Linked DNA regions of Homo sapiens: region 1 is linked to region 2. Evidence: promoter capture Hi-C in 16 types of primary human blood cells and fetal thymus (Javierre and others, 2016). All regions are on one chromosome and are shown on one strand. Each heading gives the region's core, a stretch centred on a gene start or on the middle of the fragment in contact. The rest is flanking DNA. Distances are from core to core; before and after follow the strand shown.

Region 1 (4,475 bases), core at 1,058-3,557, 150 kb after region 2:
GAGAGGAACTTGCACACAATTTGGAAAGCATAAGGGAAGGAAAAGTCATTTTTCTTGTGTTACTGTGGTATAATACATACATATTTTGATCTTTGTCCTATTTCCTGGCACGCTGCTCCTAAAACTCTTGGAATCTCCGAAGTGGTAAGTGTCTTTTTTGTAAACTAATGAGAAGACTGATGGCAGAGGGGTGGGGAGACTCTGGGGCAGCCTCAGGATGTAGGCAAGTTGCCAGGGGTACCATTATATGATTAGAGGGTTGGAACTTTCAGGCTCATCCAGACTTCCCAGGAAGGGAGAGGGACTAAAGGTTGAGTTAATCACTAACAGTTAATGATTTAACCAATCATGCCTACATAATGAAGTCTTCATAAATCCCCAAAAGGACAGGGTTTAGGGAGCTTCTAGGTTGCTGAATATGTGGAGGTCCTGGGAGGGTGGTGTGATCAGAGGTCATGGAAGTTCCACATCCCTTTCCACATGCCTTGCCCTATGCATCTCTTCCATCTGGCTGTTCCTGAGTTGTGTCCTTTTATAATCAGCCAGTAATCCAGTAAGCAAACTGTTTTCCTGAATTCTGTGAGCCATCCTACAAAAAGATCAAACCCAAGGAGAGGGTTGTGGGGACCTCTGATTTATAACTGGTTGGTCAGAAGCATAAGCAAAAACCTGGACTTGCAATTGGCATCTCGAATGGGGGCAGTATTGTGGGACTGAGAGCTTAACTCATGGGATCTGATGCTATCTTCAGGTAGATAGTGTCAGACTGACTTACATTTTTGTACATCCAGTTGGTGTCCACAAAGAATTGGAGAATTGCTTAGTATGGGGAAAAACTCACATAACTGGTGTCAGAAGTTGTATTTGGCCATTTTTGCATTGCTATAAAGGAATACCTGAGACTGGGTAATTTATAGAGAAAAGAAGTTTAATTGGCTCATGGTTCTGCCGGCTATACAGAAAGCGTGGTGCCAGCATCTGCTCAGCTTCTGGTGAGGGCCTCAGGAAGCTCACAATCATGATGGTAGGTGAAGTGGGAGCAGACATGTCATATGGTGAGAGGAGCAAGAGAATGGGGAGAGGTGTCATATACTTTATTTATTTATATTTTAAGTTTTATTTATTTATTTATTTTTTGAGACAGGGTCTGGCTTTGTTGTCCAGGCTGGAGTGCAATGGCGTGATCTCAGCTCACTGCAAATTCCGCCTCCCAGGTTCAAGCCATCTTCCCCACCTCAGCCTCCTGAATAGCTGAGACTACAGGTGTATGCCAACACATCCAATTAATTTTTGTATTTTTTTGTACAGATGGATTTCTCCATGTTGCCAAGGCTGGTCTCAAACTCCTGAGCTCAAGTTCAAGGTCAAGCTCAAATGCCTTGGCCTCCCAAACTGCCGGGATTACAGGCATGAGCTACCATGCCTGGCTACATACTTTCAAACAACCAGATCTCATGAAGAGCACACTCACTATTATGAGGACAGCACCAGGCCATTAATGAGGGATGCACTCCAATGACCCAAACACACTCCCCTCAGACCCAACCTCCAACAACGGGGATTACATTTCAAGATGAGATTTGGAGGGGATAAAGAACCAAACCGTATCATTCCACCCATGACCCCTCAAATTGCATGTCTTTCTCACACTACAAGATACAATCATTCCCTACCAATAGTCCCCAAAAGTCTTAACTCATTCCAGCATCAAGTCCAAAGTCCTAAGTCTCTTCTGAGACTTATCTCCTTCCACTTATGAGCCTGTAAAAATCAAAATAAGTCATTTACTCCCAAGATACAGTGGTAGTACAGGCATTAGGTAAACATCACAATTCCAAAAGGGAGAAATTAGCCAAAAGAAAGAGTCAATAGGCCCCATGCAAGTCTAAATCTCAGCAGGGCAGTCATTAAATCTTAAAGCTCCAAAATACTCTCCCTTGACTCCATGTCCCACATCCAGGGCACAATGGTGCAATGCGTAGGCTCCCAAGGCCTTGGGTAGCTCTTCTCCTGTGGCTTTGCAGGCAGCAGCCCCTGTGGCTGATCTCACTGGTTGGAGCTGGGTGTCTGAGGCTTTCCCAGGTACAGGATGCAAGCTGCCTGTGGATCTACCATTCTGGAGTCTGGAGGGCAGTGGCCCACTTCTTATAGCTCCACTAGGCAGTGCCCCAGTGGGGACTCTGTGTGAGGCTTCCAACCCCACATTTCCCCTCAGCATTGCCCTATTAGAACTTCTCTGTGAGGGCTCTGCCCCTGTGGCAGGGTTCTGCCTGGGCACCCAGGCTATCTCTCACATCATCTGAAATCTTTGTGGGAGCTGCCAAGCCTCCTTCACTCTTGCATTCTATGTGCCCACAGGTTTAGTACCACATGGAAGCCACCAAGGCTTATGGCTTGCATCCTCTGGACAGGCAGCCTGAGCTGTATCTGGGGTCCTTTGAGCCACAGCTGGAGCTGTAGTAGCTGGGATTCAGGGAGCAGTGTCCTGAGGCTGAGCAGAGCAGTGGTACCCAGTGCTTGGCCCCCTAAACCATTCTTTCCTCCTACGTCTGTGGACCTGTGATGGTAGGGGCTGTCTCCAAGTTCTCTGAGATTGCCTTTGAGGCCTTTTCCCATTGTCTTGGATACTAGCACTTGGCTCCCATTTAGTCATGCTAGTTTCTCTAGCAAGTAGTTGCTCCATACCCTGCTGGGATTCTTTCTCTGCCACATGGCCAGGCTGCAAATTTGCTGAATTTTTATGCTCTGCTTCCCTTTTGAATATAAGTTCCAACTTTAAGTCATTCCTTTGCTCCCATATCTGATCACAGGTTGTTACAAGGAGTCAGGCCACATCTTGAATGCTTTGCTGCTTAGAAATTTCTTCTGCCAGAGACCCTAAATTACCACTCTTAAATTCAAACTTCCACAGATCCTTGGTACATGAACACAATGCAGGAGTTCTTTGCTAGGGTGTAACATGAGTGACGTTTATTCCAGTTCCCAATAACTTCCTTATTTCCATCTGAGACCTCACTAGGCTGGCCTTCACTGTCCATATTTCTATCAGTATTTTGGTCATAACAATTTAACCAGTCTCTAAGAAGTTACAAACTTTCATCCTCTTTTTTTTTTTGAGACAGAGTCTCGCTGTGTCACCTAGGCTGTAGTGTAGTGGCATGATCATGGCTCATTGCAACCCCGACCTCCCAGCTCAAGTGATCTTCCCACCTCAGCCTCCTGAGTAGCTGGTACTACAGGTCCATGCCACCATATCTGGCTAATTATTTTTTTGTTGAGACAAGGGCTCACTATGTTGCCCAGGCTGGTCTTGAACTCCTGGCCTCAAGCAATCCTCCTACCTCAGCCTCTCAAGCGCTGGGATTACAGTTGTGAGCCACTGCTCCTGGTCCTCCTGCCTTCTTCTGAGCCCTCCAAACTCTTCCAATCTCTGCCTGTTACCCAGTTCCAAACTTGCTTCCACATTTTCAGGTATCTTTTTTAGTAACGCTCCGCTTCTTGGTACCAATTTTCTGTGTCAAGCTGTTCTTGCACTGCTATAAAGAAATACCCGAGACTGGGTAATTTATAAAGAAAAGAAGTTTAATTGGCTTACAGATATGCAGACTATACAGGAAGCATGGTATCGGCATCTGGTCAGCTTCTGGTGAGGGACTCAGGAAGCTAACAATCATGGTGGTAGGTGAAATGGGAGCAGACATGTCACACGGTGATAGTGGGAGCAAGAGAGAGCGGAGAGGTGCCACACACTTTTAAACATCTAGATCTCGCAATAATTCATTATCGTGAGGACAGCATCAAGCCATTTATGAGGGACCCACCCCCATGACAAAACCACCTCCTGTTAAGCCCCACCTCCAATGATGGGGATTACATTTCAGCAAGAGATTTGGAGAGGAGAATCATCCAAACTATATCAGAAGTGAAGTATTCAGAGTGGTACGAGTATAGAAAGAAGAAACAGGTTTGTTTGTCTTTCCCCCCAACAGTTCTTTAGCACTAGCAGATGGATAAAAGGGCAGACAACAGATGAGACATTTGTAGGAGCTTCAGGACAGTTCCTGCAAATTCTCCACTTTGACGCTGCAGGAGGTGGCTTCTCTGTGATTTCTGAACTTCTGGATTTATTGAAAGCTAGCAGCAGTCCTTTCTGACTCTACTCTCCCCTGGTCCCTTCCAACTGTTTTGTAAGCTCTTATTCCCTGTGTTAAATCTCTTCTTGCTTGAAATACCTAGAGTAGATTCTACTTTCCTGACTGAACCCTGACTAAAGGATTAGGTTTAGTAAAGTGCTAGGCACTCAATAATAATTAGCTGTTACTAATGGGAATAGGAAAACTGAGAAGCATGTCTATTTACTTTCTTACCTCATCATATTTTCTTTTTTCATTTTCCAGTTGTTTAAGTAGGGCCTCTTGTTGCTGAATTCTGGATTGTTGCTGAGAACAGGTCATTTCCAGTAGATTTTCTTTATC
Region 2 (4,253 bases), core at 1,592-4,091:
AGACTGTGCGGGGAGTCTTTTTGGAACAGAGCTTTCATTAGTCACAGTTCTGCAGGCGTTTTATGCTTTCAAACAGCCTTTCTCACCTATCATCTGATCCTTGTAAACTCCCTCATGCATCAGACAGGGCAAGTGTTATTATCCCTACTTTTCAATGGAGAAACCAGGCCCAGGGAAGCTGAGGATTTGGCTAATGTCCCATAGCTTTTCAGTGGCAGGGGTAAAGCTAGAACTGTAGGCTTCTCATAGCCTGAGTGAAAGCACAGGGTGCTGTGCTACCCCAGGGCAGTTTCAGTGAGCTCTTAATGGAGGCTGGGCTGTGACCCTGAGCCTTCCTGTTCTCCCCGCATGTCTGGGAGTCATTGGACTGCAAGGGGGGGCACCAGGAGTGGTAGGTGTCCTGGGTGGAGAAGCTGTGCCAGGTTAAGGAATGCCGCTCCAGAAGCAGAATCTGAATTCCAAAAGGCTTTGGAACAAGAATGAGGGAAGGCCGTCAGGGTAGGAGAGAATATTTTGGTAGAACAGACTCAAAGCCTCAAATAACAAAGAGAAGGGATAAACAGAAGCACTTCAGAGGAAGAGGAGAGCACTGTTCCGGATCACGAAGAGGCTCTGGGAACACCCAGGATGGAGGAGCATGCAGGCCTCCTGCTGGCTCTGTGGCCCTGTGGACCCGTGGCTCCCTTTCTCTCTTTGGCCCTCAAATTGTCAATGGAGGGGGCCGCAGCCCATGGTCTCTGAGGCATGCTTCTGACTGGCCTCTGGGCTCCTGACCCAGGTCCCCCTGAAACCAGAATGACCCCTGGATCTTCCCTACAGAGAGAGCGCCTGCAGATGGCGGGGAAAAGGGGCCAAGGCCCAGCGTGGAGAGAAGGAGGACTTTGCCTTTGGAGGAGCATATGCGGAGCAGCTACCCAGCACCAGGCCCCTGCCCTCCCCAGACATCGCTTACTTTAACGGACCACCACAACTCCATGAAGCAAACCTCCCATTTAGAGTGAGGACCCTGAGGCACCACAGTCATTCAGGTCACCCCTGGGGAGCATCTTGTCACTGCCCGCAGCCCCCTTCAATCTGGACCTGGTGCCTCCCTCAAAAAGGGAGGAGTGTGGGAGAGAGACCACAGGGGCCAGCACCACACAGTTTCAAGCGGAAAGCCCTTCCTGCTGTTTCCTGGCTGGGGGTCTATTACCTCCCTCTGCCGTGGTCTCCTTACTGTTAGGAGGCCTGCTGCCTGCAACAGTGGCCCACATGCTTAAATTAATGCACTGGTCACAGGGTGCCCATTGCGGCCCCAGTAGGATGGAGGAGGCTCCCCTCAATCCTACTGTCTTGTCATTGTGGTAGAAGAATCTGAGCTCAGGACTTACTTCTCTGCCACTGTCCTAGACCCCATTTGGTCTTGGGACCCACAGGTCGTCCAGGAAGCAGGTCTGTGTGTGCTCGGATCCACGTGGCTCTGACCCTCCCAGCACAGAGAGCCTGAGGGTCCCAGTGTGCACCACCACAGGTCAAGCAGTGCCCACCCTTGACCCTCAGATGGCAGACCACTCCCCCATCTCTGGCCAGAGCTGCAGGCCATACCAGAGGCCTACGCCCTGGGCGGGCACACAGGGCTGCCATTGTCTGCTCAGCGCCTGGCACCCTCTCGTTTGCATAGCCACGTGAAGAATGCAAGAGCGGGCTGGGGACTTGTCCCTTCAGAGGGGGGTTGGGGCTGTGGGGGAGGAAGCCAGCAGGGGTCTGCAGCAGGACCCTGCCTTCCCCCAGTGCAGTCCAGGAAGGGTGGGTGGGCTGTTGGGGACGGAGGGGGCGGCGGGGGGCTGGCAGGAGTGGAAGCAGGGTTGTGACATTCCTTCTGCACCCACGCTGCAGTGGGGCCCACTTGAACGTGAGGGGATTGCTAATGAGGTGGAAGAGAGTTAAACATTCCCCTACTCCTGAAGACCAAGAGAGACTGGGAGAGAGAAGAGGGAGGTGGGGGTGCTCGGAGCGGGCAGCCTGAACCCCGGGAATGTGCAGAGGCCACTGCTCCGCGCCAGGCTGCTCTAGAGTTGGGGGCCAGGGCCCAGTGTTCCAGTCCCAGCAGGAGCTACTAAGCCAGCCAGCAAGGGGATTAAGGGGCTGAGCAATCCGCCTTCCTTCAGGCTGATGCCAGAAGGTTGGGGCTGTCTCCCCAGCTCCCCACCAGGCCCCTTGCTGGCCGGCAGCCAGCGCTGGCCCAGCCTCGATAGGGCCCCTTTTCTGTCCCCCTCAGATCTCAAAAAGACCCCACAGTACATATTTCCTGGTCTGGCCTCCCTGATTTTTGGCACACACAGCTCCCAGGTACCCATGACCCCTCTTCCCAACACCCCACCGCTAGCTCAGCCTCCCCACATCCAGCTTCAGAGCCCCTGCCAAAAAGTTATCCTTGACATCTAACTCTAGTTTTACCCGCTGCAAACTGGCATTCCTTTCCCTTCTGTCCTAAAGTCAAAGGGCAGAAAACCCCAAGGGTTAGATCAGCCTTGCAAGAGCAAAGTCCATCCTCCCAGGGCTGGTGTTTGGGTTAGGGATTATCCGAATTTTAGGACACCCGAATCAGGTTCCTAAAGGGGTTTCCCTGTGGGGAAAGGCCCAGAGGGCAGCTGGGTCATTCCTCTCAGCCCCTCCCTTCCCTATCCCTGCGGAACGGGGCGGGGCAGGGACACCACCTGGGCCATGGGCCGGCCCTCCGCCCCCAGGGGGCTGGGCATGAGCTTTGCTGGGGACCCTGCTCTGGCTTAGGCGGCTGCTGTGGGCGGGCCCTGGCCTTTTCCAGCCCCTGGGCCTCCCCCTGCATTCTGGAGTCCAGAGCCACTGCCTTTGCTCCAGCCGCTGCCGCCGCACCACCTCTCCTTCTCTGCCTCTGACCCTCCTTCTCGCTGCTCCCCCTGCCCAGCTGCTCCTCCCACCTGGCCATGACCAAAGCCCCTGCTGGCACCCTGGCCCAGCTCTGAGTCCTGGGACCCTCGGTCCTCTCTCCTGGGCCATGGCCAACTCAGGCCTCCAGCTCCTGGGCTACTTCTTGGCCCTGGGTGGCTGGGTGGGCATCATTGCTAGCACAGCCCTGCCACAGTGGAAGCAGTCTTCCTACGCAGGCGACGCCATCATCACTGCCGTGGGCCTCTATGAAGGGCTCTGGATGTCCTGCGCCTCCCAGAGCACTGGGCAAGTGCAGTGCAAGCTCTACGACTCGCTGCTCGCCCTGGACGGTAGGCCCCAGGCCGGCGGGGTGGGAGATGGGAGGTGGGAACAGCAGGGGAGTCTGGAGCAAGTTTTCCTCACAGTCTGCTATCTGCGCTGGGCTCCAACCTCCAGCCTCCGCTCTACAATTCCCCCACTACTGCCCTGTGCCCATTGACGGTCCAGGCCAGCCTGCTGCCCTGTGGGAGGGGAGGGCTCTAGGGTCTGGCGGCTGTGGGTCCAGATTCCTGCTCTGTCACTATAACTTTGAACTAGTCACCAAACCTCTTCCCATTGTGATGTTCTCATCTCTAAAGGGGAATACTAATACCTGTGGCACTCTGAAAGACTCAGTTAAGACCCTTCATCCACTTCTCCCCACAGTCAGTAGACAGACACACACTGTATGATGCACACCTGCTCCCTAGTCCTGCTCCCAGGCCTGTGTGCCAGCATATGGGTGCATGCACATGCATGCAAACACGCATGCACACGCACACACGTGCACATGCATGCACAGACAGGTGTGTCTGCATGCAGTCCCTCTCCTTCTGGGGTGTGGAGATGAGCCTGACAGGCACCGCCGAAGTTCTAACTCTGGGGTGGAGGTGATCCACCTGCAATCTGCCCAGGAGCCCCCAGGGACAATCTGCTCCCCATGGGAGCTGGGAGCAGAGCGGCCTTCAACCAGCCCCATTGTGCCAGTTCAGGCAGGTCAGTTCAGGCAGGTCATCTAGCCTCGCTGAGGGACCCAGGTCTCCTGAGCACCCCCCAGGGCCCAGGATGGACCCATGCACCCGTGAAGAGGCAAGCTTCCAGCTGCCATGGGCAGAGGGGAAAGTGACTGTTGTCTGAATGGCTGCTGGGGAGGGGTTGCTGCGGGGCTCAGGCTGAGTTGAGCTGGGCCTCAGATACCCCCAGCTCTTCCACCTACCAAACCTGAGGGGACCCTGGAGCTGCCCTCAGCTGCTTGGGAGGATGGGCCAAGCCCAAGAGGGAGTCCCCAGGCCAGAAAGCAACAGCAGAGTGAATCATACTACCGGAAA

What was found. Contacts are between HindIII fragments. The CHiCAGO score rates a contact against its expected background, and 5 or more counts as called.
Region 1: a contact is called between a fragment that was not itself captured here and the fragment with the promoter of CLDN19 in region 2, in 7 of 17 cell types (activated CD4 T cells, non-activated CD4 T cells, megakaryocytes and 4 more). The highest score is 7.5, in activated CD4 T cells.

Annotation. Positions count from the first base shown.
Region 1 is chr1:42,589,376-42,593,850 of GRCh38, reverse strand. CCDC30 (coiled-coil domain containing 30) reads right to left here. Exons shown (of 21, transcript NM_001395517.1): 14 at 4,368-4,475. The region is part of intron 1 of LOC124904162 (a long non-coding RNA gene); the gene reads left to right. Among named protein-coding and RNA genes, the nearest start is that of PPIH, 67 kb to the left of the region's middle. The HindIII fragment of the contact is 4,786 bases long and covers 1-4,475 here.
Region 2 is chr1:42,738,824-42,743,076 of GRCh38, reverse strand. It overlaps CLDN19 (claudin 19), which reads left to right and starts at 2,841. Exons shown (of 5, transcript NM_148960.3): 1 at 2,841-3,236. The coding sequence starts at 3,014. RefSeq lists an enhancer at 882-1,484. The HindIII fragment of the contact is 4,341 bases long and covers 1-4,021 here.